Linked DNA regions of Homo sapiens: all the other regions are linked to region 2. The links are contacts of gene promoters, found by promoter capture Hi-C in human tissues and cell types (Jung and others, 2019). All regions are on one chromosome and are shown on one strand. Each heading gives the region's core, a stretch centred on a gene start or on the middle of the fragment in contact. The rest is flanking DNA. Distances are from core to core; before and after follow the strand shown. Region 1 overlaps DNAJC17 (DnaJ heat shock protein family (Hsp40) member C17). Region 2 holds the start of CHAC1 (ChaC glutathione specific gamma-glutamylcyclotransferase 1). Region 3 has its middle 51 kb from the start of INO80. Region 4 holds the start of INO80 (INO80 complex ATPase subunit).

Region 1 (2,700 bases), core at 155-2,654, 170 kb after region 2:
ACAGGCGTGAGCCACCGTGCCCGGCCCATTTTTAAATTTTTTGTAGAGGTGGGGTTCGCTTTGTTGCCCATGCTGATCTTGAACTCCTGGCTTCAGGCGATCCTCTTGCTTTGGCCTACCAAAGTGTTAGGATTACAGGCATCAGCCACCATGCCTGGCCAGAGGGGACTTTTAGGCAGGTGCCCAGAGCTCTGTTGTTTGCTTCCTGCGTGTGACATCAGGCAGTCATATACCTCTGGGGTTCCTGCTAGTGAGGGGATGGGGAGGCATCTGCCTCTCCGGGCTTGGGGAGACGTGGCTGCCCCAGCTGTTATCACTCACTGTGCCTGTGACTGGAACTGGGCCTGGCAGTGGGTTTCCAGCTGATTTACCCGGGATGCTTTGTCCATTCAGTGCTTGTTGTCACATAGAGCTGCCTCCCTCTGTGTCCTCCTTATCTAAGTCTAACCTATCAGCCTCGGCCTCTTTACTTGTACCACTTACTTACCTGGCTCCAAGCTTTATTACAAGAAAGGACAGCAACCTTTTAAAAAATAATGATCCCTTCTTTGTAGGGCACCTTTCTTTTAAGTTAATGATGGCTATTTTGTATTTATTGGATCCCTTAGCACTTAGCTTTTTTGGGTGAGTCAGGAGTTCCTTCCCCCATCAAGAGGTGAAACTGGAGGCAGGTGGATGTCAGAGGCCCTGCTGTGTGCTTGCGGCAAAACCCAGTGGAGGTGGCTAGAGACCCAGCTTCCAGCCCTCCTCCCCTGCTCTGGGTTCAGGTTGCTGAAAGTGGTAGAACCGGTTATAGAGCTTCCGGGGAAGGGCTGGGTGGCTGCCAATTTATTATTCATTGTCTGATGTGGGCAATGAGGGGGTAACATTTAGTTCCCACTGTGGTTATCCTGGCAGTCTGCTTTAGTAATTCCTTCCCTTTCCCAGACTTGGTTTTTTAAGAGGAGGTGTTAGCAGGGAGGAGGAGAAATTGTGAAATAGTGGTCAGATCTCCTAGGGTCTGGATGGCACCTACTTCCTTCTGCTCCTCAGTGGGTCTGAAGTAATTGACATAGTTGAGGTTTCCGATTGTGTTTTGGTTGAGAACAAATGAATGTTTGCCAATTCATGCAACAGATATTTATTGTGTGCCTGCTGAATGCCAGGTGCTGTTCACTGTTCTGGACCCTGGGGAGAAGCAGAACTCCCTGCCTCCTAAGTACATCCACTTTATTTGTAAGGGGAACCCCCATACCTTCCTATACCCTTATGCTCTCATTTAAGGTATAGTTATAACCAGCTTATCTGTTTCTCTAGACCATACCAGAAAAGAAGCAGCAGATGAGCAGCACTTCTAGGGAAGGGCTGGCATCTGGCAGTCTAGTAGAGGCCAACTAAGGAAGTAATAGGAAAACTATTAAAAGAGTAGAATTTAAAATCCTCGCCACCTAGGGAAGCAAATGAAAAGCCTGACACCACTCTCCGTAGAACGTGTCATACTATTCAGTAGTTGATGTTCTGGATGATGATCCTGAGACATCAAAAACAGATTAAACTCAACCAGTCTAGGATGGAAAAAGGGTGGTAGACAGTGAGGTTTTTAGAAAGCCATCAGGAGAAAGACCAAGTTTCTGCAAATTGCAGTTCGAAGTACTCACGGAGCTTACATTTATCTGAGATCTTCGTCCTTCTGAGGCTGGGCCTTAGAAAGAGCTTCTCCTCTGAAAAGCCATGATCTGGATGGGGAACTTTGGGTTGGAAACATTTGAACTGTCACCTGGATCCTTTGTGAAGTCTCAGAAATGCAAGTGTTTCTAAGCGCTAGAGAGACCAGGGGATTTAGGGGAAACCTATAGGTAAAGAAGAAAAGCTGCAAGTGAAAAGCCACACCTTGCTGTGGCTGCTTCAGCTCTGCCTCAGTGATCCCAGCACCTGCAGACACAGTTTCTTTCTTTCTCTTTTTAGAGATGGGGTCTTGCTCTGTTGCCCAGGGTGGTCTCAAACTCCTGGGCTCAAGCGATCCTCCCGCCTCACCTTCCCAAAATGCTGGGATTACAGGCGTGAGCCACTGGACCTGGGCCAGAGTCAGTTTCTGGAGGAGCTTCCAACCCGGGATACCTGGCTTTCAGCAGTCCTGTTTATCCTATATCATAAGGAGTAAGATTATAGAGGATGGCCCTTCTATTTCTTGTTCTTCTGAAAGTTCCTCTCCTTCCCAATTTTGTGATAGTTATAAAAAATAATTGTTGTACATTTTTACCCTGAATCTAGCCTTTTGAGCTGTTCATAAGGTAGGATTATTTAATAATAAACAATATTGAGACCGGAAGGTTTTTCAAAGGCCTGCTTTAGGAGAGTTGTGTTTACATGGTGAGAAATTCTTCAGGCAGCAGTCAACTCCAGGAGGGCTGGACAAAGCTGGGAATCTAGTTTGTAGTACAAAGCACCAAATTCTAGGCCAACCGGTTCAAAGTCAAAACTGGTCTTCCAGGCTAAAACCAAGGGATGGGCCCTGCCCAGGGCAGGTTTAACAGTTAAATATAGTAATAACTAGTTAATCAAGACAGACATACTTGACCAACATTCTTAGGCCAGCTGGGTTTTGATTCAAGGCCACTCTGGAAGATCTCAGGCTACCTACCCATCCCTTCTACCCCTTGAATAAGAGTATTTCAGAGACCCTGGGAGTGAACCCAGGATTGAATTTTAGATCTACCCCAC
Region 2 (2,700 bases), core at 74-2,573:
CGTCTCTACTAAAAATACAAAAATTAGCTGAGTGTGGTAGCGCATGCCTGTAATCCCAGCTACTCGGGAGGCTGAGGTGGGAGAATCGCTTGAATCTGGAAGGCAGATGTTGCAGTGAGCCAAGATTGCATCACTGCACTCCAGCCTGGGCAACAGAGCAAGACTCTGTCTCAAAAACAAACAAACAAAACAACAACAACAACAACAAAAAAAAAAAACAGTTGACAAAGTGGTCTAGTACCAGGGAAGACAGGATTCCTCCTCAAAGTGTGGTCCAGGATGTGGTGGCATCACCTGTAAGCTAGTTAGGAATGCTGTGTCTCAGGACCCATTCTCATGCTACTGAACTAAAATCTGCATTCTAACAAGATCCTCATGTGATTTGGTGAGAAGCACTGAGCTAGAACACGTTTCTACTCTGCCAGAGAAGCATCAGACAGAGCTAGCCTGCAGCCAAGAGCCTATGAGCTCTCTCTGCTGGTCCCCCTTCACACTGGGCCAGGGTTCCCCTTCATGATTCGGGCACTTACCTCATGATCTTCAAGGAGCGTCACCACACGGCCAGGCTAGGGAGGGAAGAAATATTTTGAAATAGACAAGTTAGAAATCAGCTCTGCCATCAGCAAGGAAACCTTTATCAATCCCGCTGACCCGGGCCTCCAAGTGCCCCACTCTGCATGCTGAGTCCCATTCATGCAGGGGAAGGTGGGGGAGCGATGCACGGATGTAGGAGAAACGTCCAGAAACACTGACATGTCAGTGGTCCCAGTTGGTGATCAACACAGGGATCCACAGGTTCACAGACTCCAGCCATCACAGTGATGCACTGGGCACATACATTTAAATGAGCCACAAACCCCAGACACAGGTTTACACATTTCTTTCTATTGGCCCAGAGAGCCCCGGACATTCCAGGGCACTGGCGCCCAGTATCCCGCCCCCAACCCCCTCACTCCCCTGGGCACGGTTGGATGCTCACCATCTTGTCGCTGCCCCGATGGAAGGTGTCTCCCTGCCAGAAACGGCGGCTGTAGCCGCGCACGAAGCCCACACGGCTGTCGCTGTAGGCGAAGTCGGGCCTCCACACCAGGGAGCCGTACCCGAAAATCCACAGCGCTTGAGGGTCGCCGTCGTTTCGGGGGAACTGAGCGGACGGCGTAGGGGACTGCGAGGTGGGCGGGGTGTTCGGGGCTGCAGACTCCTGCTTCATGGTGCCTGGCACAGGGATAGGCCCAGGCGGCCTCCGGGGCTGGTCTCCGGCGTGGGCACGGAAAGACCGACGGACGCACACACCTGGCCTGGCACCGCTCGGTAGCTCCAGCTGAGCGCCCCCCATGGAGGCGCCCTTTAAACCTTCTTGCCGGGAGACCACGCCCACCGCGGCCAGCTGCCGCGGTGATTGGGGTGGGGCAAATCCCCTTTTGGCCAATCAACTTCGGATTCTGCTTCTCACTTAACCGCGCCGCGGGCCCAGCGCGCCCGCTGATTGGTTCAGCTCCACCTCTGTGGCAAACCTGGCAGGAGTGATGCAACGGCAGGGGAGGTTTCTCCAGCGCCGGCATGCAGCAAGGGCGCCTCGGATTGCGTCAGGCGGCGGGCAGGGGGCACCCGCCGGGCCCAGGGCGGGCACCGGGCGGGCGTCTCCCCAGCCGCCCCCTCATGACCTGGGCCCCTTGGAGGTACGGCGAGCGAGTCCCAGGCGGTGTCAGCCCAGCCTTGCCGCTAGTGCATCTGGCCGAGTCCCTGCCAGCCTAGGCGGCACAGACTCAGTCCCAAGTCGAGTCCAGGGCACGTCCAGAAGGAGCGCTCTGGGCGTCGTAAACTTCCGTCTCTGGGGCCCCTCCTGAGATCATGCACTGCGGGAAAGCTGTCGGAGGCACCGTCCGCATTCCGCTCAAGTGCCTCACGCCGTTGGCCATTGTGAGCAAATGGAGAAACTGGGCCACGGGGCTGCAGGGGGTTCTGCAGAGACTGCGGGGCTGAGTTAGGTAGGCCAGGCGCCCGGAGCTTGCAGGCCTCACATGGGCTACGCCCCGGACCAGGTGTGGGACCCCTCGAGCCCAGGTAGGCTCGGGGAAGAGCCTGTTAGAGCGCTTGGACCGACCGGCAGTCACTTTGGAGGTGGTGGCTGCACCTGCGGAGAAAGGCTATAAAGATGCAAAAGCCAGGCTAGTCTTGCCCCCAAGGCGATGGGTTTAATTCTTCCTGGACGTGAGATTTTGCAGCAATGATTAATCCATAGGCACAAGGTTCCGGGAGCAGCGGGCAAGGAGGGCCCAGTGAGGCCCCCACAAGACTATGGCCAGCTACTGGTCTTCTCCCTCGGCTTCTGGCCTCCCAGCCGAGTCCACAGGCCGCCGGGGGTTGACCCAATACGCAGCAAGGGACTGCCCTCAGGGGATGTCACTGACTGTAAAAGGGAAACAGAGGCAGCTGAAGGCCTTCTCTCTAAACTGGCCAGGAGATGGCTGGCAGGGGCAATGTGCAACATGGCTTCTCATTCGATTCTAATTCAATATTTAAACTAAACGTGATCTTCACACTTCACATATTCATTCCGAAGGTGTCGCAGATATAAGTGGGAAACTTGCACAACAGTGTGTATAGTACAAAGCTATTTCTTTAAAAACAAAAAGTATTCGTGTAATAAATAATCTGGAAGAATATACCTAAACAGTTAGCAGAGGCTGGCACCAGAGG
Region 3 (2,700 bases), core at 22-2,521, 210 kb before region 2:
AAAAAGTAAACAGGAAGAGATACACACAGAGACCAAGAAGGAGAAGACAAATAGGAAGAAAATCAGAATAGTATTATGTAAACCAGAAACCTCATTTGTAGTTTGATGAACTCTCATTGTAAGTTATATCAACCACAAATTATTTTTAACGGTTTTACTAAGATATAATTTTTTTTTTTTTTGAGACAGAGTTTCACTCTTGTTGCCTAGCCTGGAGTGCAATGGCTTGATCTCAGATCACTACAACCTCCGCCTTCTGGGTTCAAGCGATTCTCCTGCCTCCTCCCAAGTAGCTGGGATTACAGGCATGCACCACCCCGCCTGGCTAATTTTGTATTTTTAGTAGAGCCAGGGTTTCACCATCTTGGTCAGGTTGGTCTTGAACTCCCGACCTCAGGTGATCCACCTGCCTTGGCCTCCCGAAGTGCTGGGATTACAGGCGTGAGCCACCGCGCCCGACTGATATAATTTTTTTTTTTTTGAGACAGTGTTTCACTCTATCACCCAGGATAGAGTGCAGTGGCGAAATCTTAGCTCACTGCAACCTCCACCCTCTGGGGTTAAGTGATCCTCCCACTTCAGTAGCTGGGACCACAGGCGTGCACCACCATACCCAGCTATTTTTTTGTATTTTTAGTAGAGACAGAGTCTCGCCATGTTGCCCAGGCTGGTCTCGAACTCTTGGACCCAAGCGAACTGCCCACCTTGGCCTCTTTTTCTTTCAAGTCAAATGATTTTGTTAGACTATGTTTTGGTGTTGGTCATTCTGGATCACCATTTTCAGATACAGTGTGATTTTTAAAATATGCTGTATAGTTTTTTGTTTGTTTTTTAGAGATGGGGTTCTTATTATACTGCCAAGGCTAGACTCCAACTCCTGGCCTCAAGTGATCCTCCCAAAGTGCTGGGATTACAGGCATGAGACGCCCTGCCCGGCCATCTTACATAATATTCTTAATGCATTTTAGCTTTTTATGCACCAATATATTAGAGTGTTCATCTATTTATTTTTTATTTTTTTTATTTTGAGACACTCTCACTCTGTCACCCAGGCTGGAGTGCAGTGACATAATCACTGCTCACTGCAGTCTTGACTTCCTGGGCTCAAGCAATCTTCCCACCTGAGCCTCCCAAGTAGCTAGGACTAGAGGCATGTGCCACCATGCCCAGCTAGTTTTCAAAAAAAAATTTGGGGCTGGGCGCAGTGTCTCACACCTGTAATCCCAGCACTTTGGGAGGCCGAGGCAGGCGGATCACAAGGTCAGGAGTTCGAGACCAGCCTGGCCAGTATGGTGAAACTTCATCTCTACTAAAAATACAAAAATTAGCCAGGCACTGTAGCATGCGCCTGTAGTCCCAGCTACTCAGGAGGCTGAGGCAGAAGAATCGCTTGAACTCGGGAGGCGGAGGTTGCAGTGAGCCGAGATCACGCCATTCCATTGCAGCCTGGGTGATAGAGCAAGACTCCATCTCAAAAAAAAAAAAAAAAGGGGTTTCTTTGGGCCAGGCATGGTGACACATGCCTGTAATCCCAGCTACTGGGGAGGTGAGGCAGGAGAATCACTTGAACCCAGAGGTGGAGGTTGCAGTGAGCTGAGATCACGCCACTGCACTCCAGCCTGGGTGAAAGAATTAGACTTCGTCTCAAAAAAAAATTTTTTTGGCGGGGGCAGACAGGTTCCCACTATGTTGTCCAGGCGGTCTAGAACTCCTGGCTTCAATCAGTTTTCCTGCCTTGGCTCCCCAAAGTGCTGGCATTACAGGTGTGAGCCACCACATCAGGCTAGGCTCAATTAATTTTTTAACTTCACAGAGCTTCCTATTTTGTTGTTTTTGTGTAGTGTTAAAATCACAGTTATTTGCTTTCTGAGATTTCTTGGCTTTGTCTTCTTCCCTAGTACTTTTATCTCTCTTTCCTTTCTGTTTTCCCTACCCTGCTCAGTTTTTGTTCCATTTCTAGAAGTTTCTCCCCAGTGTGTGAACTTGTCCTGGAAGGGATCCATGGTTGGTTATTATACAGAGCTTATAGGGTCTAGACTGTTCAAGCCTGGGTATACCTTCAGACTGTGGGATCCTTTCATGCAATTGCTATTGGAGTGAAAAAACCCCTTTTGGTTTCAGCTGTTGTTCTCAAATTGGCGCTTAACACTCTCTAGTGAATACCAATTTTCTTCTTAGGTCTGTCAGATACCCCATTGCTTCCCTCTACTGTTTTTCCCACATGGTTGTCAGTATCTCTTGGGTTGTCCCCACCTCTTTGCAATTTCAGGTTTATGAGTTACTTCATCACCCAGTATGTTGTAAATATTGTTCATGGGTTTGGAGTTTTGTCCTCTAATTATTCTGTTTTTACATGGGGATTTGAGAAGATCTAGAAAGTATGCCACCGTTACCACCCTGCCATCTTCCCAGAATCTTGGTATATACTTTCCTTGCTTCTAAAAGGCCTAATACTATGGCTTCCATCTTGGGTGCACTCTTTCTGTCAGATCACTTGTTCTGGTTGCCATGTTGGGAGAATACTTTTGGGAGGATTCGGCCCGACAGAGAACCAAGGACTCCAGCCGACAGTCTGTGAGGGACTATGTCTTCATCTCCCACAACCAAACAGTGGTCATTCCTCTCCAGTAGATCCTCCCCAGTCAAGCCTTCAGGTGACTACAGTCCAGCCTATAGCTTGACCACAAACTTATAAGAGAA
Region 4 (2,700 bases), core at 72-2,571, 160 kb before region 2:
AGAGATGGGGTTTCACCATATTGGTCAGGCTGGTCTCGAGCTCCTGACCTCAGGTGATTCGACCACCTGACCTCCCAAAGTGCTGGGATTACAGGCGTGTGGCACTGCACCCTGACACAAATTTAACTTTTTAAAGGTCAGTTAACTCAGCACAAGAAGGCTACTTGATGACCTTAATAAAGTACTTTTTAGTTAAATGCTAAGGGCCAGGTTAAAATGGATTAAAGAATGAGACCCAAAGGAACTGAATTAACAGCATATTTAACTTTCAGTAAGTTCTAATTCTTATCTACACCTAGGCCTTACCCTAGGCAATTCTCACCACACATCCTGGTAGTTGGGTCGATTACATTTATTATGTTGTCTTTTTTGTAGAGACGGGGTCTCGCTATGTTGACCAGTCTAATGGACTGCTCTGAGACGTTTGGCCTGAGGTGATCCTTCCAGGCAGGAGGATCACTTCAGGCCAGGAGACTGGGAACCAGCCCAGTAGACTGGGCAACATAGCGAGACCCCAAGTTTAGTAAATGTGGGTGGCAGTGGACTCAAATTGTAGAATTGGCACAGGTAAAAGCAATTATTCGCTTTTCAGAGGCACACTGTGTGGATGTGAGAACAGGCTGGCATTTCCGATAACAGGTCTGCGTGTTCCCAAGTCCTTGTATCCCACAACCTTCACGTAGACATCTTATCTAACTATGCTGTCCTACCCAACCTATAGCGTTCTTGCTCCCAGAGTCTAAATGGGAGCCCCAAACTAATTACTGTATAGTAGTCGAACTACACACCAGGCACTTCCCCGACAATCTACAACCCCATCCAAAGGGGTCAGAAACTAGTAACAAAATACCAGCTGCGAGCCTCTCCTTCCCCTAAAGAGATCTTATCAACTTGGCTGCACCTTCCCACCTCTAGCCTGCGGGAACAAATATCCCAGGATCCCGGGCGGTTTCGATTGACGTTACTTCCGGGAAAAGTAACCTTGCATCGGCGGTTGCGGGCCTGGAAAGCTCTCGCGACATTTTCTCCTGCGAGATCTGCTTGCTCACTGTAGCGATGACATCCTCCTCCTCCTCCCCGCCGCCTTTCGGCAATCTTCGCCAGTCCCAGTCCCGACTAATCTGTACTCAGATGGCATGGATCAGGGTCTCCCCTCGAACCCCGGTTCGCACGGGGCGTCAGGTGGCAGCGGCGGGGTGCGAGCTGCGCGAGGCCGACGGCAGCGGCACTACGGGTGGCCACGGGCAGGCGACGAGCAGTGAGTGTGGGCGGGGTGGGGGTAAGCCACCCGTGTAGCGGCTCGATTGTTCTGGCCTGGCTATGGCGCCTCTCCTCCCCCCCGCCATGGCTCCCCGTGTCCCTGCTCCGCTCCTCTCAGTGAGTGAAAGTGGCCGCCGCCGCCGCCGGCCCAGCGCCCGCAGCCGCCTCAGCGCCGCCGCCATCTTGGGGTCCCAGGAGCCGCGGAGGGAGCGAGCTAGGAGCGTCCACGCCCAACGCAGTCACCGTCCCACGGCCTCAGAGAGCGAACCGCGGCTCCACCGTCGGCGGGGCGACCCCCCCCTCCGGACCCCGCCCGCACCCCGCCCCCCCTCCGCCGCCGTCGCGGCGGCGGGGCCAGGCGGCCCGAGGTGAGGCAACTAGACGTGGGCGGGCGAACGGAGTGGGGGTTGTGTAGGTCTTGTTGCGCCCCTCTCTGCGGGCGACAACTGGGCCGCGTCTTAAAGGGGCCGTCGCCCCCGGCCCTTGGATTTGTTGGGGTTAGTATGGAGGATGGGTGTGGACACTCCCCGCAGGGTTGGGACCTCAGGGACTAGGGCCTTGTCCTTCCCGTTTCATATCTCTGGAGACCCGGGGTCATGCGGTGACCTCAGCCACCTGAGGAAGCCCGTGGGGCGCCCACACGTGGGGAGTGTGTTAGACCAGGTGCACGTGGGACCCGGTGGGGCGGTGTCGGGCTAACACGTGTGTAGGTTTGGGGGTGGGCAGGGGCAGGGCGGAGGCTGGAAGGCCTTGAGTGGGAACCCCGTGAAGGTTGTGTATCTGTCATTTTAAACAAATGAGATCTAAGGGCTTGTTAGTGTGTCATTTTGTAAGGGGCAAGTTGAGATACGGTTGAATGGTGCACGCTGCTGGCTGGTGTTGGGTGGGGGCAGGCTGACACCTGCATAGACTTGGGAGTGTCTAGATGACACCTCTTCTGGTTTTTTAGGTTTTTACATAGCGACTAGGAAAGTGTCATCCTATTTTGACATTCCTTCTTGAGCTCGCTAATGGAAAGTACTACTTCCGTAATCTCCGAGGCTAGAAGCCCCCTACAGTTTAGGAATGACAGAACCTAGGCAGCCACTTACTATTCTAGTTAACAGCCAACTGTGCCTGGAATTCTTTGATTCACACACTGTCTCTAGTTTGATGTACTTGTTAGAAATGGGGGAAGGAATTTGGAGGTTGACCTGGCTAACGTCACAGGTTACTTTTCCAGTCAGTGACTTTCATTATTTCCTCCACAACAAAATTATTGTGGCTTTTCAGTGGCAACTTAAATTAAATAATAGCTTTATTGAAATATGATTCAAATACCAAAAAATTCCGCTTTCTAAAGCGTATAATTAAGTAATTTTCTGAAACTATATTTATTAAATTCTGTAGCCATCAACCACTATTTAATTCATCACCCTAAAAGAGAATCTCTAGAAGCCA

Evidence for each region. Contacts are between HindIII fragments. The study calls those that stand out against the background at their distance.
Region 1: a fragment that was not itself captured here is called in contact with the fragment with the promoter of CHAC1 in region 2 in 2 of the 25 tissues and cell types used here (pancreas and spleen).
Region 3: a contact is called between a fragment that was not itself captured here and the fragment with the promoter of CHAC1 in region 2, in 6 of the 25 tissues and cell types used here (IMR-90 fibroblasts, adrenal gland, lymphoblastoid cells and 3 more).
Region 4: a contact is called between the fragment with the promoter of INO80 here and the fragment with the promoter of CHAC1 in region 2, in 2 of the 25 tissues and cell types used here (lymphoblastoid cells and mesenchymal stem cells).

The regions. Positions count from the first base shown.
Region 1 is chr15:40,785,741-40,788,440 of GRCh38, reverse strand. All of the region lies in intron 1 of DNAJC17 (DnaJ heat shock protein family (Hsp40) member C17), which reads left to right. Among named protein-coding and RNA genes, the nearest start is that of C15orf62, 17 kb to the right of the region's middle. The HindIII fragment of the contact is 6,259 bases long and covers 1-2,700 here.
Region 2 is chr15:40,952,094-40,954,793 of GRCh38, reverse strand. It overlaps CHAC1 (ChaC glutathione specific gamma-glutamylcyclotransferase 1), which reads right to left and starts at 1,323. Exons shown (of 3, transcript NM_024111.6): 1 at 980-1,323; 2 at 531-566. The coding sequence starts at 1,210. RefSeq lists a silencer at 1,590-1,849 and an enhancer at 1,521-2,114. The HindIII fragment of the contact is 19,989 bases long and covers 1-2,700 here.
Region 3 is chr15:41,165,692-41,168,391 of GRCh38, reverse strand. No RefSeq gene overlaps it. Among named protein-coding and RNA genes, the nearest start is that of INO80, 51 kb to the right of the region's middle. The HindIII fragment of the contact is 6,382 bases long and covers 1-2,700 here.
Region 4 is chr15:41,114,901-41,117,600 of GRCh38, reverse strand. It overlaps INO80 (INO80 complex ATPase subunit), which reads left to right and starts at 1,321. Exons shown (of 36, transcript NM_017553.3): 1 at 1,321-1,628. RefSeq lists enhancers at 1-117, 834-933, 899-1,678, 1,744-1,823, 1,874-1,923 and 2 more and a silencer at 1,374-1,643. The HindIII fragment of the contact is 26,384 bases long and covers 1-2,700 here.